2 separate regions of the Homo sapiens genome follow, and region 2 is linked to region 1. Evidence: promoter capture Hi-C in 16 types of primary human blood cells and fetal thymus (Javierre and others, 2016). All regions are on one chromosome and are shown on one strand. The core of a region is centred on a gene start or on the middle of the fragment in contact, and the rest is flanking DNA. Distances in the headings are between cores, read along the strand shown. Region 1 holds the start of RAB11A (RAB11A, member RAS oncogene family). Region 2 overlaps LOC105370866 (a long non-coding RNA gene).

Evidence for each region. The method cuts DNA at HindIII sites, captures the fragments that hold promoters and counts their contacts. A CHiCAGO score of 5 or more calls a contact.
Region 2: a fragment that was not itself captured here is called in contact with the fragment with the promoter of RAB11A in region 1 in 1 of 17 cell types (megakaryocytes); the score reaches 5.5 in megakaryocytes.

What each region holds. Positions count from the first base shown.
Region 1 is chr15:65,867,905-65,872,002 of GRCh38, forward strand. It overlaps RAB11A (RAB11A, member RAS oncogene family), which reads left to right and starts at 1,587. Exons shown (of 5, transcript NM_004663.5): 1 at 1,587-1,721. The coding sequence starts at 1,682. TRQ-CTG1-4 (tRNA-Gln (anticodon CTG) 1-4) reads right to left here and starts at 1,229; the gene lies at 1,158-1,229. RefSeq lists an enhancer at 1,401-1,460. The HindIII fragment of the contact is 828 bases long and covers 1,437-2,264 here.
Region 2 is chr15:65,816,977-65,820,992 of GRCh38, forward strand. The region is part of intron 1 of LOC105370866 (a long non-coding RNA gene); the gene reads left to right. It also overlaps the pseudogene HNRNPA1P44. Among named protein-coding and RNA genes, the nearest start is that of DENND4A, 27 kb to the left of the region's middle. The HindIII fragment of the contact is 494 bases long and covers 1,376-1,869 here.

The sequences.
Region 1 (4,098 bases), core at 337-2,836:
TTTTTTTTTTTTGAGAACGAGTCTCTCTCTGTTGCCCAGGCTGGAGTGCAGTGGCGTGGTATCAGCTCACTGCAACCTCCGCTTCCCGGGTTCCAGCAATTCTCATGCCTAAGCCTCCAGAGTAGCTGGGACTACAGGCACCCACCACCACGCCAGACTAATTTTTTGTATTTTAGTAGCGACAGGGTTTCACCTTGTTGGCCAGGCTGGTCTTGAACTCTTGACCTCAGGTGATCCACCCACCTTGGCCTCCCAAAGTGCTGGAATTAAGGCCTGAGCCACCGTGCCCAGCCCATTTTCTACTTTTAAGGACCTTATGACAACACTGGGCCCACCCAACTAATCCAGGATAATATCCCTAATTTAATGTCAGCTGATAAGCAACCTTAATTTCATCTGTAACCTCAATTCCCCTTTGCCATGTAACCTAACCTATTCAGTCTCCAGGAATTGGGAAGTGGACATCATTGGCAGGGGGCATTATTCTGCTTGTTATAGGCATACTTGCCCACAAGTCTAAATCGAGAGTTTGCATATAGGAGGTAGGAGGTGTGACAATAATTGGATAAAGGCTTTTCTGGAATGACAAAATTCTCTTCAAATACAGGGAGGCCCTGCGACATGATATCTGGCAAATCACTTGAGTCTTAGTATCCAAACTTCCGCTAAAATGGAAATTACCATCCTTTGCTTGGCATGTTAAATGAAATACTTATGTAAACGGACTTAGATTAGAGGCCTACAAATAGGACTCAAGTTCTTGATGAATCTTGATGAGGAGGGTGGGCGAAGTACTCTAAATGAAAATGAGATAGATTGCGAGATTTCCGGAGAGGAGTGAGTGACAAGCGCCTACCCGTGCATGAAGCTGGAGGTAGAAAATTCCAGCAAAAGGAATTTTCAAGTTTCACTGAAGCTTTTGAATCAAGGCTTGAAAGCCCAGGGTTAAAAAAAAGGCAGTGAAGAAGCTCATTAAGACAACCCCCCGCCAGGTAGCAGATAGCACCTGAAATGCAGTGGGAAATTTGTGAGGTCTTCATAGGCAAGGATTAAATTTTACATCTCCATCTTAAGATGTGTCATAGTTGTTCAATTACTTAGTGACCAAAAAAGTGAATTAAAGATGTTGTCAAGATTAAAAAAACAAAAACCAATGCAGGTTCCACCGAGATTTGAACTCGGATCGCTGGATTCAGAGTCCAGAGTGCTAACCATTACACCATGGAACCGCCACGCATGTGTAGCTGCCTTCGGCTGTCTAATCCTCAGAGAACCCCGCCCCCATCCACAAACCCACCACTCACAGGCGGTCCCGCCTGGTTCCAGCGAGCCGCTTCCGGCACGGTAGCTCGAGAAATGAGCAAGCGGCCACTAAGACTATGGTAGCTAGGAGTTCCAGGACTCAGTTTCCCCTTTGAGCCTCCTTTAGCGACTAAAGCTTGAAGCCCCACGCATCTCGACTCTCGCGCACACCGCCCTTGTTGGGCTCAGGGGCGGGGCGCCGCCCCCGGAAGTACTTCCCCTTAAAGGCTGGGGCCTGCCGGAAATGGCGCAGCGGCAGGGAGGGGCTCTTCACCCAGTCCGGCAGTTGAAGCTCGGCGCTCGGGTTACCCCTGCAGCGACGCCCCCTGGTCCCACAGATACCACTGCTGCTCCCGCCCTTTCGCTCCTCGGCCGCGCAATGGGCACCCGCGACGACGAGTACGACTACCTCTTTAAAGGTGAGGCCATGGGCTCTCGCACTCTACACAGTCCTCGTTCGGGGACCCGGGCCACTCCCGGTGGACCCTCGTGCCGGCCACCCCTGCACTGATATAGGCCTCCCTCAGCCCTTCCTTTTTGTGCGGTTCCGTCTCCTACCCAGCTCAGCCTCTTCTCCCCCGCTCAGACAGGGGTCCCCATCACATGCCGCTCTCTGAGCGACCTCTCCATAGGCCTTCGCTGGCCTCAGAGCCCCTCCCTGCGTGTCCTTCCCCTGGCGGACTGCCTTCTCCCACATCGTCGAATTCCTTTCCCCGGGTTCTACGGCCCCGCCGCTCCTCCCACCATCTCTCTTTTCGGGTGTAGCGCCCCCTCCCCCTCGGCGTACACCCTTCCCAGCTCGCGTCCTCTCCCGAAGCCCCTCTGACGGGTTCTTCGCTTCCCTCTTGGCCTTGCCTTCGGTGCAGACTCCCATTACAGGTCTTTTTCTTATCTGCCCTCTTTCCCCCCTCGAGCGAGCGTCTCTTCTGTATCTCCCCTCCACTTGGACGGCCGCCCCTCTAAGCTTCTCCCATCCCGGGTCCAGGACCCCGTAAAATCTGAGCGGGCCAAGGGCCTCCGCCCCCACCCTCCGCCCCGCGGTTCTCGCGGTCCTTAACCTTCTCTGACCGCTCCCTCTCCCACTCCCCATTTGGCAACTCTCTCTACCTTCCCTCCCCAAATCGTGTTTAGAGCTCCCTTGTCTCCGTTGCGACCTGGGTGGTGGGAGGGAGGGTAAGAGGGATCGCCCATCACCCACTCGCGCACTTGTCGCAGTGACCCGGCAGGCTGACATTACTTCCCACCTAGCCTTTTCTTTTCTTGCCCTCCCTACTCAGTGGCACCCAACCCGGGATAACTCTTTACTCGGTTCGCGAGATGAGGTTGCGGATGGGTGGTGGCTGTTATCCTTGCCAGACCTGAAGGCCTGGTTCCTGAGCAGGAAAGGTTGTGCGCTGCACAAATACTAGCTTGCTTTATCTCTATGAACTGGTTGCTTCCTGCTGCAACGCTGGGAGGATCCAACAGGAAGGGAAGAGCCCTAGTTAGCCACATACCTTTCCCAAAAGGTTGGGGGTGGGAGGAAGTTGTGTGCTCTTTTGGTTACATTAAATATTTATTATAAGATACGGAAACATGTAGTGCCCTTGGACAGAACATATTGGAGGGTCAGGGTTGGTTAGAAAGAATTGCTTATTGGTTGAGTCCGGAAGGAATCCGGTTTTTTTTTTTAATCAACGAAGATAAAGGGTACATTTTTCAATGAGAAGAGAGTACAGTAGATGCTTTTTTTGTTCAGTGAATGCACTCTCACTCTGATGCTCTTTCTCTGCTCCTGAATTGGGAAGGTAGCCATCAGTAGTGTGCCGAACAAAGATCATTACCACTGAGGAAGAAGCCATTGCTATTAAAGCTTTACTGTGGAGGGTGGAGTTTCAAGAGTGTTAAGCATGGTGACTGTTTCTGTCTTTGCCATTGGGTGCTAAGAATGATTGACTAAACCAAGCAGGAAAGATTTCTTTGCTTTCCCAATACTTTGCAAATCTTGTTATACTAACTAGTCTGCTGTTATACTCTTATCATCTCTTACTCCTCTGACTCAGAATATTCTACTGTATAGGGTGAATACTTTTGGTATCCACCCTCCCCCTCCATACTGGAAAGTACTTTCAGGGTACTTAGTTCATTTTACAAATACAAAACTGAGGCCTGGATTACAAAAAGTATATGACAGCATACCTTTTGCCGAAGGTATCTGAGATGATGTGAAACTATTTGAATCTCTTGAGACTTTGGGGTTAAAGGTTAGGTTTGTGTTTTGAAATATGGTATAATGGTAGTGTGCTTTTATAAAGGTTGTCTTTGAAGTAATTAATTCAGAACAAGATAGACCGTCAGGGTATTTCTCCTGTTTGGTTTGAACTTGAATGTTGGTTATACAAGGTCCTTTTATTTTTTAACAAAGAATATTAAATATTCTGAATTGGCCTAAAGTATTTTAACTTTTTGATTAGACCATCCTTCTAGCAACAATTGAGAGCACTGAGCTTTGGAATCACGTAGACCTCGGTTTAGATCCTGACTCAGGTCTTATATTTACTTTATGACCTTGGAAAAGTTAACTTTTCTGAGTCTCAGTTCTCTACTTTATAAAAAGGAAAATACCTGCCTCTTAAGATTGTGAGAATTAAATAATGAGACTGTTCGTAAAATTTTAACCATGAGGACTCAATAAATGGTAATAATGTGAAAGAAGTTACTGTGGTTTTGTCAGTTTTTTTTTTTTTTTTTTTTTTTTTTTTTGGAGACAGGGTCTCGCTCTGTCCCCCAGGCTGGAGTGCAGTGGCACAATCAAGG
Region 2 (4,016 bases), core at 373-2,872, 51 kb before region 1:
TGCCTCAGCCTCCCGGAGTAGCTGGGATTACAGGCATGCGCCACCACACCCGGCTAATTTTGTATTTTTAGTAGAGACTGGGTTTCTCCATGTTGGTCAGACTGGTCTTGAACTCCCGACCTCAGGTGATCCGCCCACCTTAGCCTCCCAAAGTGCTGGGATTATAGGCGTGAGCCACTGGGCCAGGCCCTGTGTCTTCTTTAATGCCACCAACAAATATCTTTTTCACAGTTAAGTGGGCACTGGGTCTTTGAGAATCTTCTCTTGAGACAGCTCTCTGTTTCCACAGCTCTTTCATCCACCTTGCGTGGCCTTGCATTCACGGCTGCATCCACTGCCTCCACAGGGGCATATGTGACAAACCCTAAGCCCCTGGAGCGCTTGGTGCTTGGATCTCTCATTACCACACAGTCTGTGAGCGTTCCCCATTGCTCAAAATGGCTCCTCAGGCTCTCATTCCAAGCTCAACCCTCCAGTGAAGAGCTTCCTCTGCTGTTCTGGTTCTTTAGGAAACTCCGCCTTAGACATGATGGCAGGGGGAAGAGAGACTTTAACGATGCTCCCTCCGTGGGGTTCATGAGCCTAATAAATAGGTATTTTCTACTTTGTATTTTTTTTTTTCTTAAATAAGTAAAATGGTGACCAGGCACGGTGGCTCATGCCTGTAATCCCAGCATTTTGGGAGGCTGAGGAGTGTGGATCACCTGAGGTCGGGAGTTCGAGGCCAGCCTGACCAAAGTGGAGGAACCCCATCTCTACTAAAAATACAAAAGTAGCCAGGCGTGGTGGTGCATGACTACTCCCAGCTACTCCAGAGGCTGAGGCAGGAGAATCGCTTGAACCCAGGAGGTGGAGGTTGCTGTGAGCCAAGATCGCGCCATTGCACCCAGCCTGGGCAACAAGAGCAAAACTCTGTCTCAAAAAAAAAAAAAAAGAAGTAAAATGTTTTTTTCACCTTGTATGTGTGATAATTTAAATTTCTCAAATATTTGTAGATGTTTTCCATTTAATTCTATTGTATGTGATTTCTTCTTTCTTCTGGTTTTCATTTATATAGTAGCATTTCTTTGAGTGCTTAATGTTTGTTACTGTGAGCTGCTCAATTTTCTTAGAAAATAATTTGTGAGTTATTGAGGTACCTTCCTCCAGAGAAGATTTGTATTTGTTTCTTCCACGCACCTGGGGCCTGCCTACTCAACTTAGAGTAATAGCTTGAGGCTTTTATGAACCTGTTTTGGCTGTAGATCATCACAAGTCAGTCTTTCAGTGACAGTATTTTTTAGTACTTAGTTCTACTTAGTTCCACAGGAACTTTTTGTGCAGTACCCTGAGGATGAATGGATATGCTGGTTTTCATCTCCACCTAAAGGGTCCAAGCTTTATTGGGAGAATGGTCTCCAATGGGATTCTCCAAGCCCTCGGCTTTACCTTGTCTCTGGAACCATTGTGAAGCCCAAGCTGCAGTTCACCAGGTTGAGCAAATGCCCTTAGGGCAAAGTGATCTCAGGGCCATAGCATCAAACAACCCCAAGAGCATCATTTAGGTGAATAGAATCCAAATGGTGCCTCCTGGTGTTGTACACCTGGACAGTGTTGTCCACTTACCTGTCTGGATTCCTTCTTCACTTCTCTTTGACCTAATAATTTCTTTCTTTCTTGCCCATGCTCAATGCTTCTAAGAGGTTTAAGATTTTTTTTAATTCAGCCTTTTTAATTGTTTCCAGTGGGAGGTGCAGTGTGAATTCCTAGCCTGCCATATACCTGGAAACAGAGCTCTCAAAACTCAACTTGATATACCCTACGATTTATAAAAATATCTGATAGCCCAATTTGTTCAATTCATAATTACCTTTTTTTTTCTGGCACCAAAGCTTTAATTAGGAATAGTTTGATGGAATCAGAAAGAATCCATAATCCGTGGTACTTAACTCTTCCCTCAATGAATATTGCTAACAAATGTATGGATTTACATTGAAATACCAAAGTAGCTCAAAGATCTCATAGTGACCACAATTTTTAAAATAGTGACCACATTTTAAAATGTTTCTCAGAAAATGAGTATGTTAAACCAAAATCATGTGTGTCACTTGCATGGAAAGTGCTGTGTCTCCATAGTTACACTAAAACATAACAAGTACAAAGGGGAAATGTCTCTTGGTGGTTGATAAGCTAAACGGAAGTGAGTCTTGTTCTACTATAATACTAGAAATGTTTTTAAACTTTCGCTCAAGGATGGAGGGTTTCATATCCTTCTGTATTACCCCTTGCTAAAACATAAGTAAGCATAGTTATGGAAAAAACACATGGGCAGTCATTGCTAAGACTCAGTGTATTGATGTCGTGTAGAAAAACATGATACAGAGATCTGTTTTTGTGGTTTATTTAATTGTCTTTGTTGTTTATAGTATTTGCTCTGAAGTATAACTCTATAAAATTTTAACAAAGACAAAGACAATCTGTCTTAGCCCAATATTAGCCCTATTCCCCACTTGGGAAAAAGTATTTTATAACACATATCAAATCAGCCTTGGAGACCATAGCATCCAATTATGCCTAGAGTGTACTAGATATTCGATAAGTGTTTGTTGAGTCAATTACTTAATGGACAATATATAATGGGTTGTTGTAAATAAAGCAGAGCAGTGACTAAAATGTTGACTTGGTCATATTGTGGGAGCATTAAAGAAGGAAAACGCCTGGGATTCAATGCCCATTCTAGGGCTGTCTGGTGCTATGGCTCTGGGTAATCCATAACCACCCGGGGCCCCAGTTTCTTCATTACTTGCCCTGTTCTTTGGTCAGACTGCACAGTCACTCCCTGTACATGCAGCATAATTTCCCAGTTCAGGGTCCTTGTCCTTATGGTTATCTAAAATGCCCTTGCCCCATCCGCTGTATGACTAAACCTATCTAGTCATGATATCCTACTTCTTTTAATCCTTCTAGTATAAATACTCTCCCACCAAGCTTCCTTGACACCACCCTGACTAGAAGCTAACTTTTCCTCTGAGCTTTTTGAATAGCATCTTTTTTCTTTTAACTCAAATGGTGTCATTTTTAATACTTTATAGCTTATATTATGATCTTTTATGTAGATATCCATACTATACTGCTTCTTTGCTAGACTGAATGTTCATAAGGGTAGAACCCATGCTTGCTATATTTTTGTAGTTCTCCATAACACCTAGCAAAATACATTAAAGATTATATGTGCTCAGTAAATATCTGTTGAATCTGAATATAGAGCATAATAATGCTTTTAATGCTTTCCTTTCTCTCTTTTCTTTCTTTCTCTTTCTTTTCTTTAATCTTTCTTTTATTTTCTCTTTCTTTCTCTTCCTTTCTTTTCCTTTCCTTTTCTTTCCTTTCCTTTCTTTTCTTTTCTTTCTTTTTGATAGGCTCTCATTCTGTCGCCCAGGCTGGGGTGCAGTGGCGCGATCTTGGCTCACTGCAACCTCCACCTCCTGGGTTCAAGTGATTCTCCTGCCTCAGCCTCCCCAGTAGCTGGGATTACAGGTGCCTGCCACAACACCCAGCTGTTTTTTGTATTTTTAGTAGAGACAGGGTTTCACCATGTTGGCAGGCTGGTCTCAAACTTCTAGTCTCAAGTGATCTGCTTGCCTTGGCCTCCCAAAGTGCTGGGATTACAGGCATGAGTCACTGCACCCCGTCCAATAATAATGCTTTTGTTTTCTTTTCTTTCTTTTTTTTTTTTTTTTTTGAGGCAGAGTTTTGCTCTGTCCCCCAGCTGGAGTGCGGTGGTGGGATCTCGGCTCACTGCAACCTCTGCCTCCCGGGTTCAAGTGATTCCCCTGCCTCAGCCTCCTGGGTAGCTGGGACTACAGGCATGCGCCACATGCCCGGCTAATTTTTTCTTCTTATTTTAGTAGAGACGGGGTTTCACCACGTTGGCCAGAATGGCCTCTATCTCCTGACCTCCTCGTGATCCACCTGCCTCAGCCTCCCAAAGTGCTGGGATTACAGGCATGAGCCACTGCACCTGGCCCCAGTAATGC